Linked DNA regions of Homo sapiens: region 1 is linked to region 2. Evidence: promoter capture Hi-C in human tissues and cell types (Jung and others, 2019). All regions are on one chromosome and are shown on one strand. The core of a region is centred on a gene start or on the middle of the fragment in contact, and the rest is flanking DNA. Distances in the headings are between cores, read along the strand shown.

What was found. Contacts are between HindIII fragments. The study calls those that stand out against the background at their distance.
Region 1: a contact is called between a fragment that was not itself captured here and the fragment with the promoter of TTLL2 in region 2, in 1 of the 25 tissues and cell types used here (mesenchymal stem cells).

Annotation. Positions count from the first base shown.
Region 1 is chr6:167,189,231-167,193,187 of GRCh38, forward strand. It overlaps the pseudogene TCP10L2. Among named protein-coding and RNA genes, the nearest start is that of GPR31, 33 kb to the left of the region's middle. The HindIII fragment of the contact is 7,121 bases long and covers 1-3,957 here.
Region 2 is chr6:167,323,152-167,327,369 of GRCh38, forward strand. TTLL2 (tubulin tyrosine ligase like 2) reads left to right here and starts at 1,935. Exons shown (of 3, transcript NM_031949.5): 1 at 1,935-2,069. The coding sequence starts at 2,023. RefSeq lists an enhancer at 1,474-1,975. The HindIII fragment of the contact is 5,612 bases long and covers 1-4,218 here.

The sequences.
Region 1 (3,957 bases), core at 1,306-3,805, 130 kb before region 2:
TATAAGAAACAGACATTAAGAAAAATATATAATCTGAAAATAACTTTCCTTTTAACCTGAGGTTTTATTGCATAAACTGAAAATGTATCAGTGTCCTTACTGTCCTCTACAACCAAATCAAGAGTCTTTTAGTCCGAATTCCCCTCCCCAATCTTTCACGCCATTGTGTTGGCTTCTGCCAGGATTTTTACTCTAACTTGATTTTCACCCTCAGTATTAGTTATGATTATTACCGTGGTGTTTATGTAACCAGTGTTTACTTTAAACTTTCTAAATTTATGCAGAATTTGGGGCTCTTCTTTCTTATATTTTGGGCCTTTCTTCTTGGCACAATTTCCTTCTACTTGACGAGCATGAGGAGACGGGGGCAATCAGCCCTTTTGGCTCATCTGAAAATGTCCTTTGTTTTGCCTTGTTCATGAGTGGTCGTTCGTCCTGATGCACCTTCTGACCCCTCATCCCATAGCTATTACATGGCCACCCTGTGGCAGGCATTGTTTTAGGGCTAGGGATCCAGCAGTGAGCAAATTTGTGAAAAGTTCTTATTTCATGACATTTTATTGGAGGGAAGCATAAAATAATCAGGTAAAAATAAATATCAATATAAAAATCAGTCTCTATGAAAAGCTACAGAGAAAAACAAGAGGGTAGAAAGCAGGGAGGGAGAGTGCTGGGCTGCTGCCCTAGGGGGCCATCTGTATGCCGTTGAGGAGGGCCTCACTGAGGGGGGATATTTTAGGGATCCATGAGTGATGTGAGAGAGGGAGCTGTGTGCGTGTCAGGAAGAACATTCTAGAGTGAGAAAGAGCCGTGAAAAGTGTGTGGTGTGTCTGAGGAAGAGCAAGGAGGCCGGTGTGGCAGGGGTACAGGAGATGAGGTCAAAGTGCCAGGACCAGGCAGTGTAGACCATTGTGGAGAAGCCATTGGATAGTATTGAGCAATGGAATGACAGTGATTTTTCTGAGCGTGTTGAGGACTTTATTCCACTCCCACACGGTGTCTGCTGGAGGATCTGATGGTGGACTAATTTCTTCCTTCGAACGTGATTTTTTTTTTTACTTGCTGCTTTTAAGGACTCTTCTGTCTCCAGTGACATTATGATATGTCTAGTTATGGATTTAATTTTGTTCATTGTATTGGGGATTTGTTTTGCTTTTTTTTTTTTTTTTGAGATGGAGTCTTGCTCTATCCTGGAGTGCAGTGGCATGACGTCGGCTCACTGCAACTTCCTCCTCCCTGGTTCAAGTGATTCTCCTTCCTCAGCCTCCCAAGTAGCTGGGATTACAGGTGTGTGCCACCATGCCTGGCTAATTTTTTGTATTTTCAGTAGAGACGGAGTTTCACCATATTAGCCAGGATGGCTCAGGTGATCCGTCTACCTTGGCCTCCCAAAGTGCTGGGATTACAGGTGTGAGCCACCGCGGCCAGCCTGTTGTGCATCTTAAATATAATCACTGTGTCTTTCAGAAGCTTAGGTTGCCAGATTTAGCAAATAAAAATGCAGGATGCCCAGTTGAATTTGAATTTCAGGTGAATAATAAATGATGTTTTTTTGTTATGAGTATGTACCATGCAGTATGTGGGACATACTTATACACTAAAAAGTCATTTGTAGTTTATGTGAAAATTCAGATTTAACTGGTGTCCTATATTTTATCTGGGAACACTATCAAGTTCAGGGAAATTCAGAACTATTATCTTTACCAATCTTACCTTTCCTCCATTCTTTCTCTTCCTGTACTTCCAATTATAGCTGCATTACACCACCTCATTCTAGCGTCTTTCCCTCTTCACATATTATATTTTCTTGTTATCATCTGGGTAAATTATTTTTCTGGTTTCTCAGTTTTCTCTTCAGCTGAATATTATGTGCTATTTAATATATCATTTAGCTTTAATTTTGAAGATTATATTGATTTCATTTGTTCTTTTTCAAATCCACCAAGAATTTTTTCTCTCTTTCATTTTTAATTTCCTACTTTAATTTTTTAAATATTCTACAAACATTTGCCTTGTCATCAGTTTCTGGTAGCACCACGCTTGCCGTCTCGGAGCTCCGCGTGACACTGGCTGCTGCTAGCTTGTCTCTGCTTCCAATACTTCTGGCATTTCCTCATGGTGTTGCGCTTCCTCACCTATTTTATATTTGTGCTGGCAGCCTGTGTTGGTGGCGATCCTATGGGGCCCAGTCTGGGAGATAGTATCCAGAAAGCTTTGTGTTTGCTTCTGCCAGGTGTCCCAGGGCACGACCAGCCTGGGATCACTTCATGTTAGCTTCTTAGTTTAAGGTGTCCCAGGTACAGGTAGCAGAACTGCAATTGCTAAGGGTAAATGAGGGTCACCCTGTAGTAACACATTCTTTGGAAAGAGCTCAGAGAGAGACAGCAACACTCCTTGGTGCTCTCCATCTGCCGGCAGGGAGGTATTTTCTAGTTCCCTCTTTCTTTGGGCCTCTAACCCTCAGAGAGTGTCCTCTTTAAGTTCCCAGACAAAGCCCTTCATCCTATCCCAGCAGAGTGACTAAGGACCAAACCTCCTGGAGACTGCAGAGGTCACCAAGGCAGCCGCAGGTCAGGTTCGAGTCTGCATTCCAGCACCCTCTGGGATTTGTAGCCCCTTCCATGAACTTGGGTGCTCATTTCCCAGGGATTTTGTGATTTGCTTGAGCATTCCTCGGTATTTGTAGTGGATGTGTGGCTGGGATGTCTGATCTGCCCCATTGCAAGGGCAGAATCAAGGCCGCTGTGGGGTATCTGCTCCTCCGTGACACAACGGACCTCCAGATGGGCCCTTGAAGCTGCTGAGACACACTGTCCTGTGAATTCCTGGCTCCCACCCTTTTTCTTTTTGTCCTAATATTTCAGCCAGTGCAGCTGTGTGTCTTGTTAGAATTTTTGCCTTCACAAGCTGTCATTTAGGCTCTGACTGGGCACATAGCAGCAAAGTGGGCACTAGAGCATTTGTTTTCTTGAGTGACCTCCAGCAAACATTCGACAAAGAAAAATTACACTTGCTAGTTTGCAAAGGCCATGCTGAGCGATTGATTAATATTAACGCCAGTCTTCTGAAAAAGAAAAGTATTTATAGGTCTGTATTTTATTTTTGTTTAAAAGACCTAAAACTTTGACTCTCAGCTGGTCCATGTAGAAGGTCTCTGATCAGTTAATTTTCCAGCAGGAATTCTAAGTTCTGTTACTGTTCTTGGATATATTTATCAGACGTTCAACAGTTCTGCCTACGGCTGATATTTCAAGAACAGAGTGAAACAGAAGTCCCATTGTTTCCCACTCCTTCCATTTTACAGGTGCAATTGTGTGTCTCATGCATGGTTCTTATACATTCATACAAATCAGCCAAGAGTCAGGCATTGATATGTACCAGGCAGGGAGTGAATTCAGTTGCTCTCAGCTGTTGACCCAAAGAAGAGCCCCCAGTTTCTGCAGGGTGTTCCATTAATATACAACCGGAAAACAATCTTTTACCATTTTGTGCTAAAAATTATTTTAAGGGGTAGAATTTTTCCTCAGTTGTCAGATTCTTCACTGTATTCATTTTGCTTAAATACAGTTTGTGGGCTGGGCATGGTGCTCACACTAGTTATCCTGGTGCTTTGGGAGGCCACAGCGGGAGGGTCTCTTGAGGCCAGGAGTTAGAGACCACCTGGGAAACATACTGGTGCTTTGGGAGGCCACAGCGGGAGGGTCTCTTGAGGCCAGGAGTTAGAGACCACCTGGGAAACATACTGGTGCTTTGGGAGGCCACAGCGGGAGGGTCTCTTGAGGCCAGGAGTTAGAGACCACCTGGGAAACATACCAAGACCCTATTCCTTCAAAAAATAAAATATTAGCTGGGCATCGTGGCATGCTCTTATAGTCCTAGCTAGGGAGGCTGAGGCAGGAGGATCACTTGAGCTCTGAGTCTGAGGCTGCAGTGAGCCATGATCACACCATTGCACTC
Region 2 (4,218 bases), core at 685-3,184:
AACCTCCTCTTGATTCCACAGGAGGGTGCGTAAAATAAGTGTGTTCTGGTGCCAACAGTGGGAAGCGGGGGATAGATTTATGCCATAATAGTGGGCATTTGTGAGTTCCACACAACAGAACATAGGGAGCCCCCAAGCACGCTGACTGCAGCACGAAGCCAGGGCGGGAGGAGACGCTGGACCAACACTGTGGTGGGATCCAGTGCTCCTCTGGGTTGGGTCTCTGACGTTAAAGTCCAGAATCTGTGTGGTCAGTCCCTAGGAGGTGCAAAGCCCATCTCCAAGCCTTTCCATATCCAGTAACCAGGAGTTAGGTGGAGAACTGAAGCCAAGGAGAGGAGTGAGCCCCATGTGAAATCAGGGAAATAATCAAAGGGAACAACAAATGGTTTGGGGAAATGTGTTTGCTTCTAGTGCTCACTTCAGACAAAAATACATTTTTATAAAAAATGCACACCGCATATTTTTCTTGCCAAAATGCCCCTAGGAGTCTCCTCTAGTCTTGATAGCTTTGCCCTTCTTCTGCCAGATACCCAAGTGGAGAGTCAGCACGAAGTCTCGGAGGTGCAGGTGTAACATCTCCAATGGAAGGGACAGATGAAACATGGCTGAGTAAATGCATGATTTACAAATCGACACACCAGTGATCTGAGCCCAGGTGCTCTTGCTTGTGCCAGGATTGCCTTCCCTGGGAGTGCAGGAAGCCCAGATAAAGTAACCCCACCCACCCACCCTTCCTCGCACGCTCAGGAAGACAGTCCTGGTGGAAGAACCTCATTTCACTTCATTTTTACAAAATTTACCCCACCACGTGCTGGGAGAAAAACAATAAATAATTAACAATGCATGAACATGTCAAATGGAAAAAGAAAAATGCCTTTCAGATTATATCTTATGAATGACTTTTGTTCTTGGTTTGTGGATAAGGAAATTAGCCATGTTTCCCTGTGCTTGACAGAACTTGGGCAACCTCCTCAGCAGCTTGGTGTGCAGTTTTTATAGAGTTACGTGAAGCAATTGATTGTTTCTGGAAGACGGTGGCAATGCCTGTAATCGAATAGATGGCAATAAAGCATTCAACTGTCATCCACAGAGGCAGCCACTTGCCAGAGCCAACATGTGCCGAGGGTAGAGAGTCTACGGCTCTGAGACGCCTGGCAAGGCCTCTCCAGTTCCTGCAGTCCTGAACCTCAGGGGTGGTGGCCGGAGGCCGTTAGATTAGCGAGGACACAGCCTGAGCTGGAAGGAGGGGTCCAACTGGGATCTCTGACACAAACATGGCTTAAACAAAAAGACACGTAATTCATTTTGGAATCTCAACTGCTTTTGTGTAGACATAACTTTTTTTTTTTTTTTTTTTTTGAGATGGAGTCTTGCTCTGTCGCCCGGCTAGAGTGCAGCGGCGCAATCATGGCTCACTGCAATGTCCACCTCCTGGGTTCAAGCAGTTCTCCTGCCTCAGCTTCCCAATTAGCTGGGATTACAGGCACCCACCACCATGACCAACTAATTTTTGTATTTTTTTTAGTAGAGACGGGATTTCAACTCGATTATCTCCATCTCCTGACCTTGTAATCTGCCTGCCTTGGCCTCACAAAGTGCTGGGATTACAGGCATGAGCCACCGCACCCAGCCCACGTTAAATATTAAGATTCCATGCAGGCGAAGCAACAGGAGAACCTGGCAAGAACAGATGCCACCCCGCCAGGCAGCCCACAAGGCCTGCCCCCTGTGTGCTGGCCGCTGAGGCCTGAGGCATGGGGACTGGCAGGAGGCCCACTGGGTCGGAGAGAGAACTCTGAAGCTTGGAGGGAGGAAGGTGTGATGAAGCCTGGGTCCCTGTCCCTAAGGGGTCCTGACAGTCTGGGCCCCACCCTGAGTCTATGACTGGCTTCCCCTTTGTGAGGAGAGCAGACCCTGCATCATCAGCAACCAGTGCTCCCTCCAGCCTCCGCGCATTTCAGCTGGCGCTGCAGCTGCTGCACAGAGACCCACAGAGGCCACCCTCGGAACCAGCGCCCAATGAGAGGGCGGGACCTGTGTTCCTCCACACAAAGCCAGGCGCTGGGGTAAGCGTAGGAGGCGACACGTAGGATGGGAGGGTGGCCCCGATCATGCCTCTGTTCCAGGACCAGCCCCTTCCCGAGAGCACAGGGGCCAGGGTCACTAGGAGCAGCGAGTGTGCACTGGGACCCCCGAGGGGCAATTTGTAGTCAGCCCTTCATACTCCTTCAAGGGAAAAGCAGTCCAGCATTGTATGAAGTCATGTACTTTTCAATCCAAAAATTTCCTATGGTGTCCAGTGCCTCCTGCATGCTGAGGTGCCAGTTATATAAGAGTGAACGAAGTAGACCCATTCCTGAGACTAAAGTTACCAAAGGAGGGGAGTGTAAGTTAACTGCATCCCATAGTGGGTACAGGAAATTCAACTGAATTCAACCAAAGCCGATTGAATGGCCGCTGTGCTCTGGGAACTGTGACAGATGCTAGGGTTATGAGACGGAACTGGATCATCTATGAAACACACATGGTTGTAATTCAGGGCCGAGCAGAATTGTTTCCATAGGATAAGTGTGAAGTGGTATGGACCCCACGGGGGAAAAGAAAATCCCCCCAGTGTAGAAAGGAAGGGCTTCAAGGAGGAGTGGGCATTCATGCTGGGCTTCCTGGGAGAGGTGGGCTTCCATCAGCAGAAACTCAGGGGCTCTAGGGGCATTTGAGGCTGAGGAGGGTGGGCTGAAGCACTGGGCTCCTGTTGTCACATGCGAGCGGGAAGCGGGCTGTGACAGGCCGAACAGCGGCCGAGAACGGGTGCAAGGCCGTGAGTGCCTGCCGGCCTGTAGCCTCCACACCGCAGGCAGAGGTCATGATGAGGGAAGAGATCACACCTGCCCATCTCCAGTCTTCAAAGAGGCAAAGTCAGCTCTCCCAACTTGGGCTAGTGATGGCGTTTGCGTTTCAAGCAGCTCAGTCTACCCCGGGTTTGTTGGAAATGAGGCTACTCTGGGTGTCTTGGGGCTGAGCGTACACATGGGACTTGATCTTTGACCTCTGCGACCTTAGAACTTTCTTGAGAAAACAGAACTTTCCTGATAATTAACAGAAAAAATAGTGCATGATTTCTGGTTTAATAATAAAATAATTATTCTGTGTTTCAAGCAATACAAATTTTTATTCAAAAGAACATTTAGGTAGGAAGTTTTTTTAAGTTGGTCAACTCAAAAAACGGGACTGTCTCATCTATAATTGGGGTGAAAAGCATTCTACATTCCATATAAACTATAAGCCACAGCTATCAACTATGCATCAGGAAAGGTGACAAGCAGAATGTGGACCATTTACAGGCCAAGTGCTTGAGGGTGACTGATCTCCACAAATGGCTTCAATGACCTAGAACAATCACGCACAAGGCCTGCAGCTACTGTGCGTTCCTACCCAATAAAGGTGGGATATTTTCTATGTCTACACCAAGCTTGTCCAATCCGAAGTCCTTGGGTCTCATGCAACCCAGGAGAGCTTTGAATGTGGCCCAACACAAATTTGTAAACTTTCTTAAAACATCATGAATTTTTTGTGATTTTGTTTTGTGTTTTTAGCTCATCAGCTGTCGTTAGTGTGAGTGTATTTTATGTGTGGCCCAAGACAATTCTTCTTCCAATGGGCCCAGGGCAGCCAAAAGACTGGACACCCCTGGTAGACAATGTAAATCAAAGAAAATGACCACCGCAAGTCTCAATCATTTAAGAAGTTTATGTGCCAAGGTTAAGGATGTACCCAGGAAAAAGAACACAGAACCACAGGAAAAGGCTGTGGCTTATGCTTTTTCCCCCATAGAGGGTCTGGGGACCTTAATAAGTAAAGAGAAAAGAGTAGGTATTGGGGGAAAGAGGAAGGAAAAAAAAAGGAGGGTCTGTAAGAGGGAAGCAGTTGCAACTTTTTGAATCTTTGGTCAGCATTCACTGAATACACATTTTATAAGTGGGGCGGGTAGAGGAACAGTCGCTTAGCATTCGTCTTGCTTAGTGAAACTTCATTTTTATATAAGATGAAATAAACATAGGACAGAGGATGCCATCAGTTATGCATTTGCCTCAGGTAAATGGAGGGATGACTTTGAGTTCTGTCCTTTGTCCCGTGCCTGTGAAGATGAGTTATCATCTTACATTGTCAGGGTGAAATTCAGCAGAACTGTTCTTGGGTAAAGATCTTGGAGCCCAC